Regions from separate parts of the Homo sapiens genome. Here all the other regions are linked to region 1. Evidence: promoter capture Hi-C in 16 types of primary human blood cells and fetal thymus (Javierre and others, 2016). All regions are on one chromosome and are shown on one strand. Each heading gives the region's core, a stretch centred on a gene start or on the middle of the fragment in contact. The rest is flanking DNA. Distances are from core to core; before and after follow the strand shown. Region 1 holds the start of COX18 (cytochrome c oxidase assembly factor COX18). Region 2 holds the start of REST (RE1 silencing transcription factor). Region 3 holds the start of SCFD2 (sec1 family domain containing 2).

Region 1 (3,028 bases), core at 169-2,668:
CACAACCAAATTCACAATGCATACTTATCCATGTGATCCTGTGCAAGTAACTTAACCTCTAAAATCATGTTCCCTCACATATAAAATATATAACAGCACCTACTTCACAGGGTTACAAATATTAGATAAGAACTGCACCCTGGGCTTTACTGTTCCATCTCTACATTTCCTAGTAACGTAAGCGGAGAAAACAGCAGTTTGTTAAGAACCTTTAATACACTGTGATAGCCACAAATCAAAAGTAAAAATAGCATTTATTCCTGCCCTGTGCTCATTCTTCCTGTAAAATGGCTCACTGCCTTAATGTTGCTGCTGATTCCGTTCCTGTTTTGTTTCCGGTTTTTTTTCCCCATGCTCACAACCTGAAAACAAGAAAGCCACTATTTTTGAAATATCCCATTTGAATAATCAAGCACTTTAACCCGTATTATCTGACTTGCTCTGATAACGCTGTGAAGTAGGCAAGGAAGGTACTGCTAGCCTGATTCCTCAGAAAAAAGGATTCAGCATTAAAAGGTCAAGTAACTGCGACCAACCAGACACAGTCTTAGTCGGGTCTGGAGAGGAAACAAGTTCGCAAACTGTTAGTCTAGTAGTTTCTTCCTAATAAGAAAGACCAGCTGGAATACTTTGGGACGAAAGACACTGCAGACATACTGGCTATTAAAACTTTTAAGACATAAATTTTGTAGGTTTCGCCAACACAATTTCTTCTGCGACTGATTTCTTTGTCTCCGTTCCCCGAGAGCAAGTATAGTAACCACTTGTGCTTGGAGCACAAATCCAGTAAGACAAAAGAAATGACAGGTACACGTGTCACAAAGTATCTTATTTAACACACCTAATGCTAGTTCAATTTTTTTTAACGCTAAAATGGTCACAATGAAATGGTCACGATGATTAAACACTAAGCACTGCAGAAGGCAACATCGTGCGATCGAAAACCCTGAGTGAATGTCGGCCTTCCTCCGCCGCAGGGGTTGCAGCGCAGGGTACGCGCACGGCTCGGCGCCCCTCACCTTGGCCAGGATGTAGTGCTGGTAGGCTGCCAAAGGCAGCGTGACAGCACCCCGTAAGGCCACGGTGGAGAGCAGAATGCTGCCCCACCAGGGCAGGCCCGTGGCGGCGTGCACGCCGAGCAGTACTTCCTCCGCAACCCGCACCGGCGAAGACGCGGCCAGGGCCTCGTACCAGCCGTTCGCATGTACTGCAGAGACTGGTGCCACTGCCCACACTGGGAGAGTGGGGCGCTTGGCGCCGCTCGTAGGAACCGGCGCAAGCGGCAGGTCCCTAGCCCAAAGCTGCAGGGCAGGGAGCGGCCGCAGCCACCGACCGCCGAGCCGGCACAGCATTTCTGCACCACGGCGGAGCCCAGATCCCGGGCCTCACAATCCAGCGGACATACACCGGCCAGCCAAGGCTGATACGCGCACGCGCCAGCAACAGCGGGCATAAAGCGCATGCGCGCCTGCCTGCAGCCGCGATTGACCTTCCCAGTCAAGCCGGTGACGTCTTGCGTCGCAGTGGATGTGACGCAAGAGATAGGAAAGTCCCGCCTTTCCCACGCGGCACTGGACAGGCCTACTGCGCACACGCGAAAGTTTCCCGCTGCTAGGGTGTAGTTAGTCCGAGGCCGGACCAAAACTGCAGAGACATGGGTGGAGCCTGCTGCCCTCCGCCAGGCTGGGTGTTCTTTAGGGAGCTCTCGCCTTGTAAAGTTCATCTACACCGTGTAACTTACCATTCTTTTTCACTAAAGCTAATAGTCATTTGTAGTGGAATTATCCTTGCTCGGTTTTTTGTGACCAGAAGCTGATCCCCAACCTCTTTACGTGCACCTGATTGCTTCCGTTAGCGATTACGATAGATTATCATACTCAAGAGTCACACGTTGCTAAAGTACCTGCTTGTAGAGAGACGCATGTTTCTTGCTGACTCTGAGTGTTAAGCACGAGGGATAGTTCAGTCTCTTGTAGATTTAATTGGCCCATCTGTTCCAGTTAGTATTTGGACCACCAACTGCAAACTGAATTTCTTCGGTGTTTTGTCTTCCATGATAAATAGCAGCAAAAATCTTATAGTAAAAGTATCATCTCTTTATTTAAGGGAAACTATCACTGGCAGTACGGTGAATTCCTTGAGTTTACTTGTATCCTATATAAGCTTTAAAGAGCCTGAACAGCAGCACTGGCTGTCTTCTGGTTTAAAGGAATACGTTGAATCTACATGGACTATATAGTTTTAACTTTTGTGTTCCTGGAAACAACAAAATGGAATGTTGTGGAGGAGTTTCCTCACCGAAGGGTCACCCCTAGACTACAGACTAAAATATGTTGTGAGGAGTAAACCTTGATTTTTATTTATTTATTTATTTACTTACTTAGGAAAAGAAGCCTCCAACAATGTTGGGTAATGTCAAACGCCAGCTATTGTTTGCCCTTCACTGTGCACCTAACCAAGGGTACCCTACGATAACTTTCTCAGGATTCTGGAATTCATCTGCTTTCCAAACTGACTGATAAATCTATACATGAATTTTTAAATGTGTTTAAACACACAGCACAACACACACTATATATAAACTTTTTCTAAAAGAAAAACCTACCAATCTATTTCTTTATCCATTTATTAAGCTAACAAAAAAGCCATCAGTTGCTACTGACTACTGTTCAGCTGTTCATAATCTGAACAGAATTTTAAAGTTATTTTTGCTAGACACAGTGGATCACGCCTGTAATCCCAGCACTTTGGGAGGCCAAGATGGGAGGATACCTTAAGGGCAGAAGTTAGAGATCAGCCTTGGCAACATGGCAAGACCTCATCTCTACAACAAATACAAAAATCATCCAGATGTGGTGGCTTGCATCTGTGGTCTCAGCTACCAGGAGGCTAAGGCGGGAGAATTGCTTGAGCCCCCCGGAGTCCAAGGCTGCAGCGAGCAATGATCGAGCCAGTGCACTCCAGCCTGGGTAGCAACAAGATTCCCATCTCTTTAAAAAAAAAAAAAAAAAGCAAGAAAAGAAAAAAA
Region 2 (2,925 bases), core at 353-2,852, about 16 Mb before region 1:
GAAAAGTTTGTACCAGTCCTAAAAATGTCGATCTTCCTTTCCTCCCTCCCTCCCTCCCTTCCTTCCTGTCTCTTTGGTTCAATGAAAATGAATACTTTTCAGGTTTGATTCATGGAGAGGTGTTACATTTGAAATTGCCTCATTGAAACTTTTGGTGGTCGAGCACCTTAGGGTCTTCATTTCATCTTGCATCGGAGACTGCATTAATTAGTAATATATTGTCCAGATAGAGGGAAACAGAGGTCCTACGTGGGTATACCAGGAAATGAAGAGTCTGGAAGCCCTGCCCTAAGAGAAACAAATAAAGGAACTTCAAAGAGAAGGAAGTGAGGTACCCTGAGGAGAAGCTGGGATGTCTTAACAACTGCTTTGGGATTTTGAGCTTGCCCTTTTCACTGTGTAGAGTGTTCCTTGCCCTACTTTCCACCTGTTGAAGTTTTCCTCATTCTCCAAGGTCAGACTGAATACATCTACTGTGAAAAGTTTCTAGAACCTCTTGGGATCCATCTTCCTACTGGCAAACCCCCATAGCACTTGCTACTTATGTTGTAATACCAAGCAATAGTCAGACTTATCTAGGTCAAGTTAAGTAGGGGCTTGAACGCCACACTAAGGGGTTTAAGCTTTAAGCTTGTAGTCATGGGGAGCCACTATGCTTCTGAGGACAGGTGTGACTTACGACTGACGTTTAGGAAGGTATCAAAGGCAGACTGAGAAGCTCTTTCAGGTGTGAAAGGGGGTGGAATTACTCTCTCTCTGTTCTTTTTTGTTGTTTTTGTTTTTGTTAGCACATGACTATGGGCTAGGCATTCCGCTTGGTTATCCCGCTTCATAGACGTGAGCCCGGTTACTCCGACACACCGTGGCCCCAGGCAGCCTCCCCGTCCTCACCACCTTTTCTTCTGTCATCTGAGGGTAATTCCTCCCCTGCAGTCGTGCTTTCCGGGCTCAGCAATGACCTGCTACCTGCCACGTCTAGGGATCTGTCCCCTCAGTCCTCACGCTCACGCTTTCTGAGTCCATAACCTCCTTCCTGAAACGTTTTCTTCTCACTTCTCCCAAACTGACTGCATTCCCCCTCCGGTAGTTTGAAATTTGGAAGACTTTTTTTTTTTTTTTTTTTTTTTACCGCAGACGCTTAAAACGAAGCTTAATTAGTCAAGGACAGCTATGGGTGGAGACTTGAAGAGATCTGAAGGGTATCTTGGAGCGCTTTAGACTTGAGAGGCCGGTGACAATAGCTCTAAAGAGACCCGTCAAAGCCTGCGGATTCTTCTTTTAACAGCTCTATTCTCATGCATGCACGCCAGGGCTGGGGGGAACTTTTGTTGTTTGTTTGTAATAGAAATCGAGAAAGGGAGTGGGGCCCGCCTCTTTTCTGACCTAAGGGCAGGAGTGAGGGGCCGGGAGGATTACGGGCGGCTCCCCCTAGACGCGCCCCCAGGCGAGCTGGAGACTGGGGCACTCCTTGCTTGGTAGAGGGGCGGGGCGCGCCTAGCGGCCACGCGCGCGGGCGTCGGAGGGGGCGTGTCTCGCGGGCGCGCGCGGGCGTCGGAGGGGGCGTGTCCCGCGGGCGGTGGCGGCGGCGGCGGCGCGGACTGGGTGCGCGGCGCAGCGTCCTGTGTTGGAATGTGCGGCTGCCGCGAGCTCGCGGCGCAGCAGCGGAGCGAGCGCCGCCGAGGCCCGGGGCCCCAGACCCTGGCGGCGGCTGCCGCAGCCGAGACGGCAGGGCGAGGCCCGGAGGCCTGAGCACCCTCTGCAGCCCCACTCCTGGGCCTTCTTGGTCCACGACGGCCCCAGCACCCAACTTTACCACCCTCCCCCACCTCTCCCCCGAAACTCCAGCAACAAAGAAAAGTAGTCGGAGAAGGAGCGGCGACTCAGGGTCGCCCGCCCCTCCTCACCGAGGAAGGCCGGTAAGTGGGGCGCTGGGCTGGGGGCTCGGTCAGGGTGGGGGAGGGCCGCCCGGGCGGCGGCAGTGGCGGGACGGGGAGGGCGCGGAAGGACGCGGAGTCAGGCGCTGTCCAGGGCTGATTTGCAGATACTGTGGCTCCGGCGGCGGCGGCCCCGCCGGGCGGGGGCTGGCGGCCGAGCAGGATCGGGTTACACAGCAGCCGCCCGGGGGCTGGGGGCGTTTGTTGGGAGCAGCGCGTCGCCTGGACCCCCTCCCCACTGGAGGCTGGGACGCCGCCTCCGCGCTGGCCCGGACGCTCCACCGAGTCAGGTCCTTTGAGGCCAAGGAGCGGAGCTGCTCGGGCCCGTAGTCCTGAAACTTCCTCTGCTTCCTCCTCCTGCCCCCGGGTCCCACCGCAGCCCCGCGCCGGCCCGCGGCCCTCCTGGCCCCCTCCCCCAGGGCCTCTCCCTGTCGCCGGAAGGCGCCGTTGAGTGCGGCCGGGCGGGTTGAGTCAGCCCCGGGGCCCGGGCGGTTCCGCCTGCGGGGCTGGACAGCGATTTCTGCGCTTCAGCCGTCCGGCGCCGCTGGCCCCCGCGTCCGGCCACCCGACCGCTGGAGCTGGCGGGGCTGGGGCGCGCGTCCTGCCGGGCGCCGTGGGGGAGTGAAGTTCGCAAACTTCCGGGGCGCGGGGGTGGCGGCTGGCCCGTGTGGGGGCCCCCTCCGGCGCTCGGAGCCCGACGCCTCGCGAGGGCGCCCGCGGAGCCTCCCCGGCCCTGGGCGTTGGGCGAGCCCCGGGGCGGTCGGAGGGGCCCGGGGGCGGTCGGAGAAGCCCGGACGCCGGCTGCGCGGTAACTTTCCGTCCTCTCCCGGGACGGGGGCCCTAGGGCTGGGGAGGGGGCTGCCTGGACTCGGGGAGGACTGGTTCCGGCCAAACAGCGCCTCGAGCTTGATCCCCTCCCCCGTTTTAGTGTTGGAGAGCGCAGGAAAAGGCTCAGGACGAGTGTCGGGGCGACTCCCGCGAGTTGGTGTGT
Region 3 (3,061 bases), core at 241-2,740, about 20 Mb before region 1:
TTCTACAATTCTATTTCATCTCATTTACTAGTAACATTTAAGTTCAGCCTCACTTTTGAACACTCATTTCCTAAACCTCAATTGTCTGTAATAATTTTATGTTTTCTTGTGCAGTAGTTTTCCTTCCGCTGGGTCATCTATTAACACTTCTCCAACAAACCAGAGTCTTCTTATGAAGGACTGTTGTGAATACTGGCATTCGTAAATTTCTAAAAATAAAATTTCCCAGGTGCACAGTTTTCCTCCCTGTCAGCATAATCTTGGGCTAAAGTTGTTGTTTAACAAGGCAATGGGCATTTATGACATTTCTACCCATTACAGCATTTAACAAATGTTATTGTAATTGCTAATTCACCTGTCTGTATTCCACTTTAGACAATAAACTCTGTGAGATTAGAGACCGTGTCCATCTAGTTCATCTTTGTATCCTCAATCTAATATATAATAAAAGGTCAATAAAATATATGCTGAATCAATGAAAGTCCCAGCAATGTGGGGAATGGTAATGAAGAACTCCAGAGCAATGCACTTACCTGTGAGATCCAGGGTTCTGTCCACAAAAACCACTGATGCCCTGCCTGCAGCAGTCTTCTTCCTGTTCTTTGCAGGGGCATAATTGGCCAGATCCGCAGCGATGACCTGACTTAAGGAACCTACAGCAAAACACTCCTCCCGTACTCCTAAATGTTCACACAGAGAACTGAGGCCTGACACTAGGCATCTGATCTGCAGCAGCAGCTCTGGGGTTAGCGTAGTGGAGTCCACATCACCCAGGCTTCCCAGCTTCCTCTTGTCCGGTCGGGCGCTATTAAGGAGGTGCACATCCTGGGGTAGCAGTGGGAAAAGGGATGCAAAAGCTGGAGTCAAGGCAAAGTGGGGAGCAACAGGGGCAAGCAATAACGGGACATGGAACACCTCGGCCGTGTAGTTCATGTTGCCCATCCATTCACACAGCTTCTCCTCCAGCTGCTCGAACACCGGCTGCTGCCCCTCCATCTCGGCCGCTGCCGCCGCTGGGACATGATTAGCTGTGAGGTGGACAGCGTGGCTCACGGTTGTGACCACCACACAATACTGGAAGTGACTGCGGCAGATGATGTCCCGTAGGATCTCCACGGTCCGGCCTTTCAGCAGGCAGCTCAGCACAAACACTGCCTTGGGCTGCTTGGCTCCACCACCAATTGCGTCGGGCTCGAACTCTCGCAGGTGACAGTCAGGACCCCCCACCGCCTCCAGGAGACGGGTGGATCCGCAGCCCCAGTGCAGGCTCTCGGCGCAGGCGGCGTCCAGGTAAACCACAGCCCGTTTCACTTTGGCCAGCACCTGCTCCCATCCTTGCTGGGTAAAGGACAGTACGCCCGAGGCGCTCATGGTTGGGGATTCGCAGACTTGGGAAACTACGGTGCAGGAACTTCTTTCAGAACTCACCGCTTCCGGAAATTGGGCTCCGGGAGACTTTGACAGTCTCCACAGTACACGTGGTCGGCCTCTGACACGCTCCCTGATGGCGCTCGGTGATGACGTTAAACTGAGCGGTGATTGGCTAGAGAGGAGGCCGGGAGTGAGGAAGGATGGCGCGGTCGGGAAAGAAGTGGGTGGGGCTCTGTGGCTCCGGGCTTCCTCAAAAGCTCGTGGAGATCAGGTGTTTCCTGAGATGGAGCTGAACTGAGTTCTTTCCGTCGCTCGGCCTGTCTGCGCAGATAATCTTCTCAGATAATCTTCTCATGTTCCTTGAAAAGTCTCCGAAATAAAAACCTAATCCGAAATTTGGTATCTTCCTTAGATATGAACACGTCTCCAAAAGTACAGCCACCTTCTCAATCTAAACTCAGAGCAACTAGAAAAAGATAATAAAAACAACCGTGTGCAATATTTTGGGTTTATAGATTGCTGTCACATACGTTATCGCCCACAAGCCTCATAACAAACCCTGTTGTTCTCATTTTCACTTTCTCCATCTTTCCTCCCTCATCTCATCGTCACTACATCTTATAGGCTTAAAAACTCTCAGAATTCAGCCCTTCCTCTCCATTTTTGCTGTCACAAAAACCCAACATCATCGCTCACCCAGGCAATGATCTCCCAACATTTTCTGACTTTTGATCTCTTTACCCTCCAATTCTATTTTCTTCCTAATAAACAAAGTTGGTCCTACAACTTTCCTGCTTAAAAGCTTCTCCTAGCCCAGTTGCCTATAGGATACATCCACACTCTTTAAAAAGCATCAACATCCTTCTTGATTTCTCAATTTCTCTCCAGCTATTCCCAACATGGAGAAAAATTGTACCGATACAATGAAGTCAATAGGCTGAACCCAAAATGTTTTATGGGTTCTGTTTGTTCCACCAATATACTTACATTACTAAGTATAATCTCTGTGCTAAGCTTCAAAGATGCAATGGTTAATAAAATTCATTACCTAATCCACAAAGAATTTACCTGGTAAACTTACCGAAAATAATCATTCCAACAGTACTGCCTGTGAGAGACTTTTTCTAACTCACCACCACTATCACCCTATCACCTCTCACTTCCCCCACCTATCAAACCACTCAATTGATACATTCGCTAAGTACTTGCCATATCATGGGGTAAGTATTAACACTATTTTCTTTAAACTATCTGTTTTGCTAAATTATGCACTAGATGCTTGGTATCCCCAACACTTATAACAGGTGTTCAATAAATGTTCGTTGAATGAATGTTCAATTAATATCCATGGCCAGGCGCGGTGGCTCATGCCTGTAATCCCAACACTTTGGGAGGCCGAGGTGGGCAGATCACCTGAGGTCAGGGGCTCAAGACCAGCTTGGCCAACATGGTGAAGCTCCGTCTCTACTAAAAGTACAAAAAATAGCTGGACATGGTGGCAGGTACCTGTAATCCCAGCTACTCGGGAGGTTGAGGCAGGAGAATCACTTGAACCCAGGAGGGAGAGGTTGCAGTGAGCCAAGATGGCACCACTGCACTCCAGCCTGGGCGACAGAGCGAGACTCTGTCTCAAAAAAAAAAAAAATTCCACATAATAATATATCCAGCCAATTTTTAATAAATACGTACA

The links. The method cuts DNA at HindIII sites, captures the fragments that hold promoters and counts their contacts. A CHiCAGO score of 5 or more calls a contact.
Region 2: the fragment with the promoter of REST here is called in contact with the fragment with the promoter of COX18 in region 1 in 1 of 17 cell types (total B cells); the score reaches 5.5 in total B cells.
Region 3: a contact is called between the fragment with the promoter of SCFD2 here and the fragment with the promoter of COX18 in region 1, in 1 of 17 cell types (monocytes). The highest score is 6.5, in monocytes.

Annotation. Positions count from the first base shown.
Region 1 is chr4:73,068,298-73,071,325 of GRCh38, forward strand. COX18 (cytochrome c oxidase assembly factor COX18) reads right to left here and starts at 1,419. Exons shown (of 6, transcript NM_001297732.2): 1 at 1,020-1,419. The coding sequence starts at 1,352. It overlaps LOC112268467 (a long non-coding RNA gene), which reads left to right and starts at 1,649. Exons shown (of 2, transcript XR_002959797.2): 1 at 1,649-1,732. RefSeq lists enhancers at 738-1,253, 1,188-1,707, 1,254-1,770. The HindIII fragment of the contact is 3,732 bases long and covers 1-2,161 here.
Region 2 is chr4:56,906,298-56,909,222 of GRCh38, forward strand. REST (RE1 silencing transcription factor) reads left to right here and starts at 1,603. Exons shown (of 4, transcript NM_005612.5): 1 at 1,603-1,916. RefSeq lists enhancers at 1,060-1,989, 2,920-2,925 and silencers at 1,086-1,380, 1,480-1,869, 1,980-2,829. The HindIII fragment of the contact is 2,443 bases long and covers 1,148-2,925 here.
Region 3 is chr4:53,364,571-53,367,631 of GRCh38, forward strand. SCFD2 (sec1 family domain containing 2) reads right to left here and starts at 1,491. Exons shown (of 9, transcript NM_152540.4): 1 at 534-1,491. The coding sequence starts at 1,371. RefSeq lists enhancers at 917-966, 1,187-1,386, 1,407-1,456. The HindIII fragment of the contact is 6,997 bases long and covers 1-2,171 here.